2 separate regions of the Homo sapiens genome follow, and region 1 is linked to region 2. The links are contacts of gene promoters, found by promoter capture Hi-C in blood cells and fetal thymus (Javierre and others, 2016). All regions are on one chromosome and are shown on one strand. Each heading gives the region's core, a stretch centred on a gene start or on the middle of the fragment in contact. The rest is flanking DNA. Distances are from core to core; before and after follow the strand shown. Region 1 has its middle 8.0 kb from the start of CLPB. Region 2 holds the start of PDE2A (phosphodiesterase 2A).

What was found. Contacts are between HindIII fragments. The CHiCAGO score rates a contact against its expected background, and 5 or more counts as called.
Region 1: a fragment that was not itself captured here is called in contact with the fragment with the promoter of PDE2A in region 2 in 1 of 17 cell types (endothelial precursors); the score reaches 6.5 in endothelial precursors.

Annotation. Positions count from the first base shown.
Region 1 is chr11:72,439,511-72,445,549 of GRCh38, reverse strand. No RefSeq gene overlaps it. Among named protein-coding and RNA genes, the nearest start is that of CLPB, 8.0 kb to the right of the region's middle. The HindIII fragment of the contact is 1,889 bases long and covers 1,747-3,635 here.
Region 2 is chr11:72,672,926-72,679,072 of GRCh38, reverse strand. It overlaps PDE2A (phosphodiesterase 2A), which reads left to right and starts at 4,651. Exons shown (of 31, transcript NM_002599.5): 1 at 4,651-4,936. The coding sequence starts at 4,866. RefSeq lists a silencer at 2,017-2,066 and enhancers at 2,927-3,427, 3,578-4,202, 4,203-4,829, 4,830-5,455, 5,456-6,082. The HindIII fragment of the contact is 6,386 bases long and covers 1-6,147 here.

The sequences.
Region 1 (6,039 bases), core at 1,442-3,941, 230 kb after region 2:
AACCAATCCAATAGTCCCAAAGATGGTTCTTTTTGATAAACATAGAAATTGACCCTCCTGATCTTAAAGCTTGAAATTTATATTTGTTTTATCTGAGTTCCTTCCTCAGGAAACAACCTTCAGGCCTCTGGAAAAAGTATCAAAGAACTGAAACTCAATGGATCACAGCACCAGATGACAACCCCTCATTCATTATGATTGCTTCCTTTGCCCCTCCCTAGTTCCTGTTTTTTTACACATTGTTACATTTCTTCCCTGATGTATAAACCCCTAGTTTTAATCAGTCAGGGAGATGGATTTGAGACTGAGCTCCCATCTTCTAGGCTGTAGCACCAAGAAAGGGGAGCAGCAGGCCTGACCTAAGCCACACCCCTGACCTAGACCAAACCCTTGACCTAGACCAAACCTCTAGTATATGGAAGAAGCAGGACCCTCCCTGGACCTAGACCAAACCCCTGGTGTTTTGGTAATATTTTTAGTTTGTAGCTTTTACAAAGTTGCTATGAACATTCATGTACAAGTCTTTGTGTGAGCATATGTTTTTGTTTTCCTTGGATAATAAATCTAAAAGTTGGAATGACTGGATCATATGGTACATGCTTGTTTAACCTCTAAAGAAACTGCCAAATTGTTTTCAAAAGTGGTTGTACCATTTCACATTCCCCTTCAGCAGTATATGAGAGTTCCAGTTGCTCCACATCGTCATGTGGTACGGCCAGTCTTTTTAATCTTAGACATTTTAATACATATATAATTCATGGTTTTAATTTTTATTTCTCTAAAGAGCAATGATATTGAGGGTGTTTTTTAGCGTTCTTATTTGACAGTAAGAAGTTATCTCTCCAAATCTTTTTTCCAACATAAAAATTGGGTGGTTTTCTTATCATTGAGTTTTGAGAATTCTTTTCATATTCTGATGTAAGTTCCTTACTGGATGTATAATTACAAATATTTTCTCCACTCTGCAGCTTATCCATTCTCTTAACAGTGGCTTTTGAGGAGCAAAAGTTCCTAATGTTGATGAAGTCAAATTGATCTTTTTTTTTTTCTTTTATGCATTGTGTTTTTCATGTTGTATCTAAGAAATCTGCTTTATCCAAAGCCACAAAGATTTTCTCCTATGTTTTCTTCAAGAAATTTTGGAGTCTTAGGTTTTACATTTAGGACAATAATTCATTTTGAGTTCATTTTTGTATATGCTGTAAGATATGGATCACTATAGTTTTAATTTGTATGTTTCTTGTCATGGGTGTATTGAGCATATTTTCATATATTTAAATATGATTTATATTTCATTTCTCATGAGGTCTTTGGTCAAGTCCTTTGCCCAGGCAGCTGTGTTTGGATATGCAGTTCGTGTGCCACTCAAAAGCCTAAACCAATAGGAGAAGTGGAGGCTGCAGTCTGGCAGCATGCTGCTCCCTGGGACATGTACACTGCTTAGGGGCCCCTTTTTCTAATTCATCCTGAGATGGCTGCTTTCTTTACTTTTCCCAGAGGCACTGCATAAGCTAGCAGAGGCATTGTCTTTGTTCACTTACTGCATTGTAGGTCTTTTTCATATTTTATAAGAGTTCTCTGTATTACTTAACCCTCCATCATTGTGGTGTGAATATATTCTTCCGAGATTATCATTTACATTTTTTACTGTTCATGGTATTTTTCAATCAGAATAATTACTTGTAGAGTCAAATACATCAGTCTTTGCTATTGTGGGTCTGAATTTTGTGTCGTGCTTAGAAAGCTTCCCTACTCCAAAGTTATTTTGAAAAATCACTTCATGTTTTCTTACTGGCATGTTTATTGTTTCTTTTTCACATTTAAGTCTTTTGATTCAGTTGGCATTTATTTTGGTGAAGGGGTGAGACAAATCTAATTTATTTTTTCCCCAGTTGGCCACCTAGTTGTCCCAACACTGTTTATTAAATAATTAATATTTTCCCCACTTACGTAAAGTGCCAGATTTATCACAAACTAAATTCTCATCTTTAATGTAATAAGAGGACATATTACCCTGCCCAGAGGCCACATGCTACACTTTGATTCTATGGGAAAGAAACAGATGACAAGAAAAGGAGGCAATTAAGAGATTTGTTTATTTTCAGAGCATGATTTGAGTTAGTGCTTAAGAGTTCTACATCTATCATGTGATACAAAAATCAGGATAGCAATAACCTTTATCAGGAAAAGATTAAATTGTATTTACTATCTTCTATTTGTGAATAAGGAAAGTGTTCAATATTTTTGAGAAAAAGTAATGCAGAAGACTTTACACACACACATACACACACACACACACACAAGTTCCTTCGTTAGGAAAAGTTGTGTAATGGCTAAGACTTTGGGCTCTGACTCAACATAAGCCTGTGATGCTACTAGTCTCTAACTTGTGTTAATGTAGGGATTGAGTTTATTCATGTAAAGTGCTTATTAGCACAATGCCAGACTCAGAATACATGCTCAATATTCAGTAGCTGTTAACTTCTATTTTTGAAAAATGCTTAGATGAGTTTCTCCAAGATTTCTCAGATGTGGTTTACCTGCTATCACTGAGGGATTGTGCCTTCATTGACTGGAGAGATCACATGGAAAACATGCCTACCAAACCTGGGAGAAACTTACCTGATCATTTATATAGATAATTGATGTGGTTCACTTACTCAGCACAGTGGCTGGAACATAGAAAATACTTAATAAAACTTCCTGTTATTATTAATAATAAATCATTTTGTCTTAGTTATTCCAAAGAAGAATTGTAGAAGAGTGGACCTGAAGACAGTGCTATGGCAATATGCAGCAGGATCAGCAGAAAGTGAATTCTTTTTTTTTTTTTTTGAGACGGAGTCTTGCTCTGTCGCCCAGGCTGGAGTATAGTGGCACGATCTCGGCTCACTGCAACCTCCGCCTCCCAGTTCAAGCAATTCTCTTGCCTCAGTCTCCCGAGTAGCTGGGACTACAGGCGCCCACCACCATGCCCGGCTAATTTTTTGTATTTTTTAGTAGAGAGGGGGTTTCACTGTGTTAGCCAGGATGGTCTCCATCTCCTGACCTTGTGATCCGCCGGCCTCGGCCTCCCAAAGTGCTGGGATTATAGGCATGAGCCGCCATGCACAGCCCAAAGAGTTCTCTTATATCCTCCACTCCACTTCCCCAATGTGAACATCTTATATAACCATAATACAATGATCAAGAACAGGAAATTAACATTTATACAATATCATTAACTAAACCTTAGAATTTATTTGAAATTCATCAATTTTCCCACTAATGTCCCTTTTCTGTTCCCTGGTCCTATCCATGATTACACAGTGCATTTAGTATTTATTTCTTCTCAATCCCCAGTCTGTAACAGCTTCTCAGTCTTTCCTTATCTTTCGTGACCTTGACACTTTTGCAGAGTACTGTGACAGGCAGAATTCTAAGATGATCCCTAAGGTTTCCACCGCTGAATGTACATACCTTGTATACACTCTTGAGTACAGGCAGAACCTGTGAATGTGATGGGATATCACTCCTGTGATAACATTACTTATCGGTTCACTTTGACTTATCAAAAGAGAGATTATCTGGGTGGGCCTGATCTAATCAGGTGAGCCCTTTAAAATAACCAGGCCCTTCCTGAAGTCAGAGAAGCTTGCTTGCAAGTATGAGAGAATCTAAGGAAGTGGTTACATGGCAAAGACCCAAGAGTTTTTTCCAGGAGCTGAGAGGTTCTCAGCTGCTGCTGGCTAGCAATACAGCCTCAGTCCCACAGCTGCTAGGAAATGATTTCAACCAACAGTGTAAGGCAGCTTGAAAAACTACCTTTGCCTGGTGGGCATGGTGGCTTATGCCTGTAATCCCAGCACTGTGGGAGGCCAAGATGGGTGGATCACCTGAGGTCAGAAGTTCGAGACCAACCTGTCCAACATGGTGAAACCCTGTCTCTACTAAAAATACAAAAACATTAGCTGGGTGTGGTGGCGTGCACCTGTAATCCCAGCTACTTGGGAAGCTGAGGTAGCAGAATCATTTGAACCTGGGAGGTGGAGGTTGCAGTGAGCTCAGATTGCACCACTGCACTCCAGCCTGGACAACAAGAGTGAAACTCCATCTCAAAAAACAAAAAGAAAAACTACCTTTCCCTAATTGAGCCTCCAGATGTGAATGCAGCTGGCCGACACCTTGATTTCAGACCCAGAGCAGAGCATAGTTAGAATATGCTAGACTCCAGACCCATAGAAACTGTGAGATATTAGATGGCAATTGTTTTAAGCTGCTCAGTTTATGGTGCTTTGTTTTGCAGCAATAGAAAACTAATACAAATAATAATATAAATCAGTTATCTGTAGAATATCCCTCAATATGTGTTTGTCTGATGTTTTCTCATGTTTGGAATGAGGTTATATATGCTTGATGAGAATGAACAAAAACGATGTGTTCTTCCCAGTGCATCATATCAAGGGATTCATTTTGTCTGTTGTGTATATGTCTTATTACTGGTGATATTTACCTTTGATCATGTAGTTAAATTGGTGTCTGCCAGGTTTTCCCCACTGTAAAGTTTTTGTAGTTCATAATTATCTTGCAGGAAGTACTTTTTTTTTTGAGAGGAAGTCTCACTCTGTTGCCCAGGCTGGAGTGCAGTGGCGCAATCTCGGCTCACTGCAACCTCCACCCCCCGGGTTCAAGTGATTCTCCTGCCTCAGCCTTCCGAGTAGCTGGGATTACAGGCGCCTGCCAGCACGCCTGGCTAATTTTTGTATTTTTAGTAGAGACAGGGTTTTACCATCTTGGCCAGGCTGGTCTTGAACTCCTGACCTTGTGATCCACCTGCCTCAGCCTCCCAAAGTGCTGGGATTACAGGCGTGAGCCACCGTGCCCGGCTGCAGGAAGTACTTTTGAGACTATATAAATTCTGTTTCTCCTCCTTGTCACCCACTAATTTTAGTATCATCTATGGATCTTGCCTGAAATGTTTATTTTTATTTATGTTTTTAGAGACAGGGTCTTGCTCTGTCACCCAGGCTGGAGCACTGTGGTGCGATGAAGGCTTGCTGCAGCCTTGACCTCCTCGCCTCAAGCAATCCTTCCGCCTCGGCCTCCCAAGTAGCTGGGACAACAGGTGTGTGCCACCCTGCTCTGCTAATTTTTTTATTTTATATTTTTGTATAGACAGGGTCTCACTTTGTCGCCCAGGCTGGTCTCAAACTCCTGGCCTCGAGTGATCCTCCTACTGCCTTGGCCTCACAAAGTGCTGGGATTACAGGCATTAGTCACTACATGAGTCACTGTGCCCAGCCTGAAATTTGTATTACTCCAGTGTCTGCCTAGTGGTAATTCTCTATTTCTCTCTTTCTTCTACATTTATTGATTGAACTTCCACTGTAAGAAAGAGCTGCCTCGGGCCAGGCGTGGTGGTTCACGCCTATAATCCCAGCACTTTGGGAGGCCGAGGCGGGCAGATGACAAGGTCAGGAGATCGAGACCATCCTGGCTAACACAGTGAAACCCCGTCTCTACTAAAAATACAACAAAAAAAAAAATTAGCCGGGCATGGTGGCGGGCGCCTGTAGTCCCAGCTGGAGGCTGAGGCAGGAGAATGGTGTGAACCCGGGAGGCAGAGCTTTCAGTGAGCCGAGATCGCGCCACTGCACTCCAGCCTGGGCAACAGAGCGAGACTCCGTCTCAAAAAAAAAGAAAGAAAGAAAGCTGCCTCTTCCCTCATTCCTCCCCTATTTATCTATTTATTTATTTGATTATTTATATCATATTTGTTTTACTCTGTGGATCAAAACCCCATATGGTCATTACTTTTCAGTTAAATTGTTCCTACTTAGGTCATTATGAACTCCTTCACACTGGCTCCTGTGTTCTTTTCACAAGCCTGCATCTGGTTTTGAGCCTTTCCTAACTTCCTGGCACATACGATGTTGTTGACTCATTTTGGATTTTCTCTGCCCAGTCCTGAAAACAACCATTCTCCAAGGGTAACTGGTTTCTGGGTTATTGGAGAATGCTGTTTATGTCTGGGTGTTAGGTGTGTTCAATTTTTAGGGT
Region 2 (6,147 bases), core at 3,402-5,901:
GCTCCTTCAGCCATTGTCATCAGAGCCACAGAGGGGAGCTTCCTGGCAGAGGAGGAGTGGGGAGAAGCTGTGGAATGGCTCCTTGAGCTCCCCACTCCACCCCTTCCCCATGCCTGGGCTCCCATTGCAAAGACCCAGATGTGGGCTTATCCTGTCCCCCAGCCAGAGGGAGTCACCCAGGGGTGTTCAGGCCAACCCTTTGTGAAATCCATGTTCCACCAGTTACCAGCCTTTCTCCGGAGAGCTGAGGGCTGTCTCACACTGGGTAGTCTCAGCCTGCCCTGGGGTTGGGGGGGTGCTCACAGAGCAGTAAGCGTCACTGCCTGCATCCCCACACACCTGCATTATCTTGTCTGCAAGACACGTGTGCCCCTGAGCTGAGCTCTGTTGTGCACCACCCGATTTCCGTCGGCCTCCTTTCTGACTTTTCTCCATCAACATTTCCTGCTTGGGCCTGTTGCGGGCTACCCAAAGGCTGTGGACTGGGGCCGAGGTACATAGGACTTTGGCTTGTCTTTTGAGCTAACAGGATCCTGTAGAAGAAATGAGATGAGCCTGAGAGGGGGTCGGGGGGTGAGACATTAGGGAAGGGAGAGGCCACCAAGGGTCTCTAGCCCAGAATCCAATGCCCCTTCCTGCCTACCTGTCCTTGTGGGTGGGAGGCAGGGTGTGTGCTGACTGGCCCAGCAATGGTGGGCTAGGATTTGGGATAGGCAGAGAAAAGGAAGAGGAGGGGGAAGTCGGCCTGGGAGGAGAAACACTGTACAAAGTCGAGGAGGAGAGAACCAGAGTGTGCTTAGGGACCAGACCTGGCCCCACCTGGAGCAGAGGATGGTGAGGTCAGTCAGGGCTGGATCACAAGGGACCTCAAATGCCAGGCTGAGGAGCTTGGCCTTTATCCTGAGGGCACTGGGGAGCCCTGCAAAGGTTTTGAGAGGGAATTCCATTACCAGATAGATGTCTTTGGAAGCCGCCTCTAGGTGCAAGGAGGAGGTGGAGTAGAGAGGTTGACCTGGGGTAAGGGTTGGAGCATGACCAGGGGAGGGGGAAGGAAGCAGGGGGTGGGGATGGAGGGAGTGGATGGATCTAAGAGAATCTACTGTCCTTTGGAACAAACGATACAGGAAGTGTAGGAGAGGGATGGGGCAAGGCGACTTTGAAGTGTCCAGCTCAGAGATTGGAAGTTTGCTGATGCCTTTGGGAGGCCAAGGCAGGCAGATCACGAGGTCAGGAGTTGAAGACCAGCCTGGCCAATATGGTGAAACCCCGTCTCTACTAAAAATACAAAAATTAGCCGGGCGTGGTGCGGGTGCCTGTAGTCCCAGCTACTTAGGAGGCTGAGGCAGGAGAATTGCTTGAACCCGGGAGGCAGAGGTTGCAGTGAGCCCAGATCGCACCACTGCACTCCCCACTCCACCCCTTCCCCATGCCTGGGTGACAGAGCGAGACTCCGTCTCAAAAACAAAACAAAAACCCAAAAAACAAAAAACTAAGAAGTTTGCTGATGCCTTTAATAGTAACAAAAGGTGTATTGGATGTTCAATATTTGAGGGACCTACGGGTTGTTCCCAGAGGAGATGTCCAAGAGACAGCCTGGACACCTGGAGCTCCAGGGAGAGGGATGGGCAGCAGGGGACACCCGGAGTTGTTGGTATGCTGGGAGAAGGCTGCATGCTCCGTGGGAGTAGGGTGGAGAATGAGGAGAGACAGGGCCGCCGTCCTGCAAGGAGCATCCATATTGAGGGGGCGAAGATAGGGTGCACCAGTGAGGGAGACAGAGGAGGGGCCGTCTGGAAGGTGGGAGGGAAACAGCCGCGCAGGACGGGGCGGGGGCGGGCGCTGAGAAGAAGCCGCCTTCTTCGGCAAAGAGGTAGCTGAAGCCTGTGGAGCCTGCAGTCCTCTCAAGGCTATGGGGGCAGCGCGGAGGCCGGATTCCAGAACTGAATCTTCCCATCGCTTTGGGCAGCCACCCTACCTCCCAGGAGCATCCTTCCTGCCATCCCACCTCCAGTTCCCCAGCTAACAAAAAACGGTGTTTCTTGACTCCCGGCAGGGCGGCGGGGCGGGCAGGTCTTGTGAACACGGCTCGCAGGGTTCAGCACCCTGGAGAGAGGCCTGTGGCCGGGGCGGGGCCTGCGGCGGGGGTAGGGGCGCGCAGTCAGAGCAGTCGGGCCTTTGGCTCCGTCTGGGAGCGGTCTTGCAGGCAGGCAATTGATGGAGGAGGGAAAAACAATCTTGGATTTTCTCCAGCTCTCTCCCCTTTATGCACCTCCCCCATCCCGGCACTGGCCTACAGGAGCCCCTATCCCAGCATTTGGGGCTATTACTCTCCTGACGACTTCAGGAAATGAGATGGGAGGAGAGGGGCAACTATTTACTGGGAACTTTTCAGACATTCCCAAAACCTCACAACCTTTTGAGCTTGGAATTCGTGACCCCATATTTCAGATGAGGAAACTAAATTGAAGTTCAGGAAGGTGAAATACCTTGCCTAGGCACTTGGCAGAGCTGGGATTTGAATTCCACCTGCCGGGCTCTAAGTCCTGAGTGCCCATTAGCCCTTCTGAGTCCTGAATCTTGCAGTTTGTTCCTGCAGACTCTCCACTTCTGGGTGGCTGTGGAGTCTGGTGTGGCAGTGGGATGGGGAGGAGACCTTCCCTTCCACCTGCTTGCTTGAGTGTATTCCCAGGAGATTTCTGAAGATGAGGCCACCACCATTGTTTCTGAAGTGGGAGGGCAGAAAGGAGGCTGAGGGCCAGGTGAGACCTCGTCACACCTGCACCCATGCATGCCCAGGAGGAACCCTCCTTTGAACTCTTCTGACTCAGCTTCTTGCTGCCAGGTTCCTCCGACCAGTGAGCAGGTTCCCAGGACATGAAGGGGAGCTGTGAGGGAGCAGGACGCCATGGTCCAGGGCTGCAGCTTCCTGAGCCCAGAGAATGCCTTCCTAGCTGTCAGGAATGGAGCAGCGAGGCCCCAGTGATAGGTGAGGTGGAGAAGCAAGACATGAGTTCTGGGCTGGCTCAGCTGCTTTACAACCAGCCTGGGCCTCGTTCCCTTTGAGAAAATGGTTTGCCCAGAGTTCAGAGATCTAAAATTCTATGATGCCTTCTGGGGCCACAGTGGGAAGCAAAGACTCCTCATATTTTCTTTCCTGACACTTCCCAGGCCACAAGACAACTGCTTTCTGCAGCACCCAGCCTGGGCAGGCCATCTACACAAGCTCAGTCATTTCTGACCTTGCCCCCTCCACCGTGCACCCCCATGTTCTTCAACATGGGTCAGGTTTCTATTCAGCCTCAGGGACTTCTCTGCTTGAAGCCTGTTGTGTGGCGGGGAGGTATTCTCCCCACAGCTCAGAGAGATGGGGTTGCTGTGGAGGGTTTGCTGTAGCTCCTCTACCCTGGAATATACCCTCTTCTGCCTTAAAAGACCCAGCTTGGACCCTCTCTTCCAGAAATGCTTGCTAACCGCCCCCCCACCACCCAAACTAGGTCAGGGGTCCCTCTGGGCTTCACAGACCCTGTGCTTCTTTCTGTCACAGCCTGCAAGTCTCCCCTCCCCACTCCCCAGCCCGAGTGCTTCTCTGAGACAAGGGATAGTGTGAGCCATGAGCTCAGCCACTGGTAGGCCAATGAATAAGTAAGTTAATGGTGAAGCCAGGATCCAAATCCCCATTTCCTGCCTCAAGGTGTGGAGCTGTTTCTCCTGCATACAATAGTAGCTCTGCTGTGACAACTCTCTATCTGTCCTAGGGCCTAAAATGCCTCTATTTCACTAGGTTATAGCTTTATCCTAGGGAGTCCTCTTTGGAAGCAGGGTGGGGGTGCAACAGGCCTTCCCCCATGCCTGTAGTCTGTGAGCAGCGAAGGCCATGTGGGGCAGGCTGTGGCCTAGGTCTCCACAGATCCTGGTAGAAGTCCATGCTCACGCATCAGCTCCAAGTCCCAGCTAAACCAAGCCACCAAGAGGTGGGCCCTGTGACAAGGCTCTGAGTCCAAAGGCCATCAGTAAAGCCCCCTAAGTCTTCCGTGGACCCAGCTCCAGGCTGGGATGCACGCTAGGAGATGATACACACCGGGTGAGGGAGCCCAGAGGAGAGGGCAGCTAGCTGTGCATGGAGGCCTGATCTCTCAGACTTGAGGGCACAAGCGTGTCCCCTCATCCTGAAGGCTTCTGCGATGGGGCAGCAGAGGGTCTGGGTCTGCTGCCCCTCAAGTCCCCAGCCCCATCCTAGCCCATGAGGATTGTAAATCCCTCGTCCTCTCCCCTCTCTCCTCTGTCAGCCACTCCCCTTTCCCCCTACCCCACTCTCTTTCTATTTCTGCCTCTGATTTTTTTTCCTTTTCTGCCTTTGTTCCTCTGTGTGTGTGTTTCTCTATGCCTCTCTGGTCTCTTTGTACTTCCATCTTGATCTCGCTAAGGCTCTGATCCCTCTCTCCTCTCCCTCTTCATGTGTTACTGTCCCCCTTCCTGTCTCTGTTTATCTCTCAGTCTCTCTGTCTGTGAGTCTTTTTTCCTCTCTCCCAGTCAGACTCTCTCTCTACCCCTCCCTCTCTCCCTCTCTCCCTCTCTGTCTGGGCCTCTCTCTGTTCCTCCTCCCTCCTCCCTCCCCCTTCTGCATTATCAGACCTGCTCCAACCTCCTCCCAGAGCCAGCCGAGCAGCAGAGGCAGTGGCAGCGGGAGAGGCGGGAGCAGCGGGGCAGCAGAGCTGGATTGGGGTGTTGAGTCCAGGCTGAGTAGGGGGCAGCCCACTGCTCTTGGTCCCTGTGCCTGCTGGGGGTGCCCTGCCCTGAACTCCAGGCAGCGGGGACAGGGCGAGGTGCCACCTTAGTCTGGCTGGGGAGGCGGACGATGAGGAGTGATGGGGCAGGCATGCGGCCACTCCATCCTCTGCAGGAGCCAGCAGTACCCGGCAGCGCGACCGGCTGAGCCGTGAGTATAGTGAGGGGCTGGGGTGGTGAGCGGCTGTGAGAGGTGCCACAGACAGGGTCCTGGGAGTCCCTCCAAGGAGCTGGGGTTGGCATGGAGCTGAGCCACGTGGAAGGATCGATCCTGTTCCTGGGCACCCCTCCTCCCCGCGTTGCCAGACTGCAGCCTGGGGTGGGGGCAGGTTACCTCTGAGCAGAATGAGGGTGTCTAACGTCAACCTAGTAGGTGATGAGGCTGGGGTCCCATGGAAGGGGCTGCTGGTTGGAGGAGGGGCTGATAATGAACCTGAACCGGTTCTTCAAGGGCTGAGGGTGTATGTGGGGAGGGGGAGGTCTGCCAAGTAGTTGGGAGGAGCTCTCGGGGCTGCAATAGGCTGGTTCAGGACCCGGAGAGGGAGAGTGTCTTGGCCCACCAAGGCTATGTGTGTGTGAAGGAGGTGGGGAGGGGGAAAGATGGAGAAAATATGAATAAGAGTGGCCCTGGAGCAAGAGAGGGTTAGAGGTAACCACCTTCCATGGAATTGGGAATTGGGGTTCAGGGACACCACTTTATGAAACTTTACCCCAAAGCGTCTGTCCCAGGATAGGGTTCTACGGAGCCAGATGGAATATGGTGCCAGCCTCGTGTGTGTCCACGTGCAGGGGGGTGCATGTGCAAGTGAGTGGGGGGCGCCGTGGCGACACCCCTCTACTAAGGGCTGCCGAGGTGGTAGGCAGGGTATGTGTGTGTGTGTGTGTGTGTATACATGTGGAATGTAAGGGACATGTTGGGTGTAGAGGGGCCTGTAGAGCTCTAGGGTCCTTGGTGGTTGGATGTAAAGCAGCCTGTCAGAGTTTGTGATCATCCCTGTGTGAGTGAGAGTTTATTCGCATGTGTCTGAGTGTGAGTGCAGGTTGGTCTGCATATGTATGTAGGTGTGTCTATTAGGTTGAGTTTGTATATTATGTGTGTTGTGTCTGCAAAATAGAGTGAATCAGTGTGCATTTTTTATCTGTTCCATGTGCATTTATGTGTGTGTATTTGTTAGTGTGTGAATAATAGCATTGCTGTGTGTGGAGGTGGATGTGGCTGTGTGCGTATAAGTATTCTGGTGTGGGTGTGTGATCATGGTGCTAGTGTGTATATCGGTGCTTCTGTGGCTGGTGTGTGTGTGTATCTATATGTGTGTATTCATCTGAGTGTGTGTGGGTGGCTGTTTCCTTCCCCTGGCAATT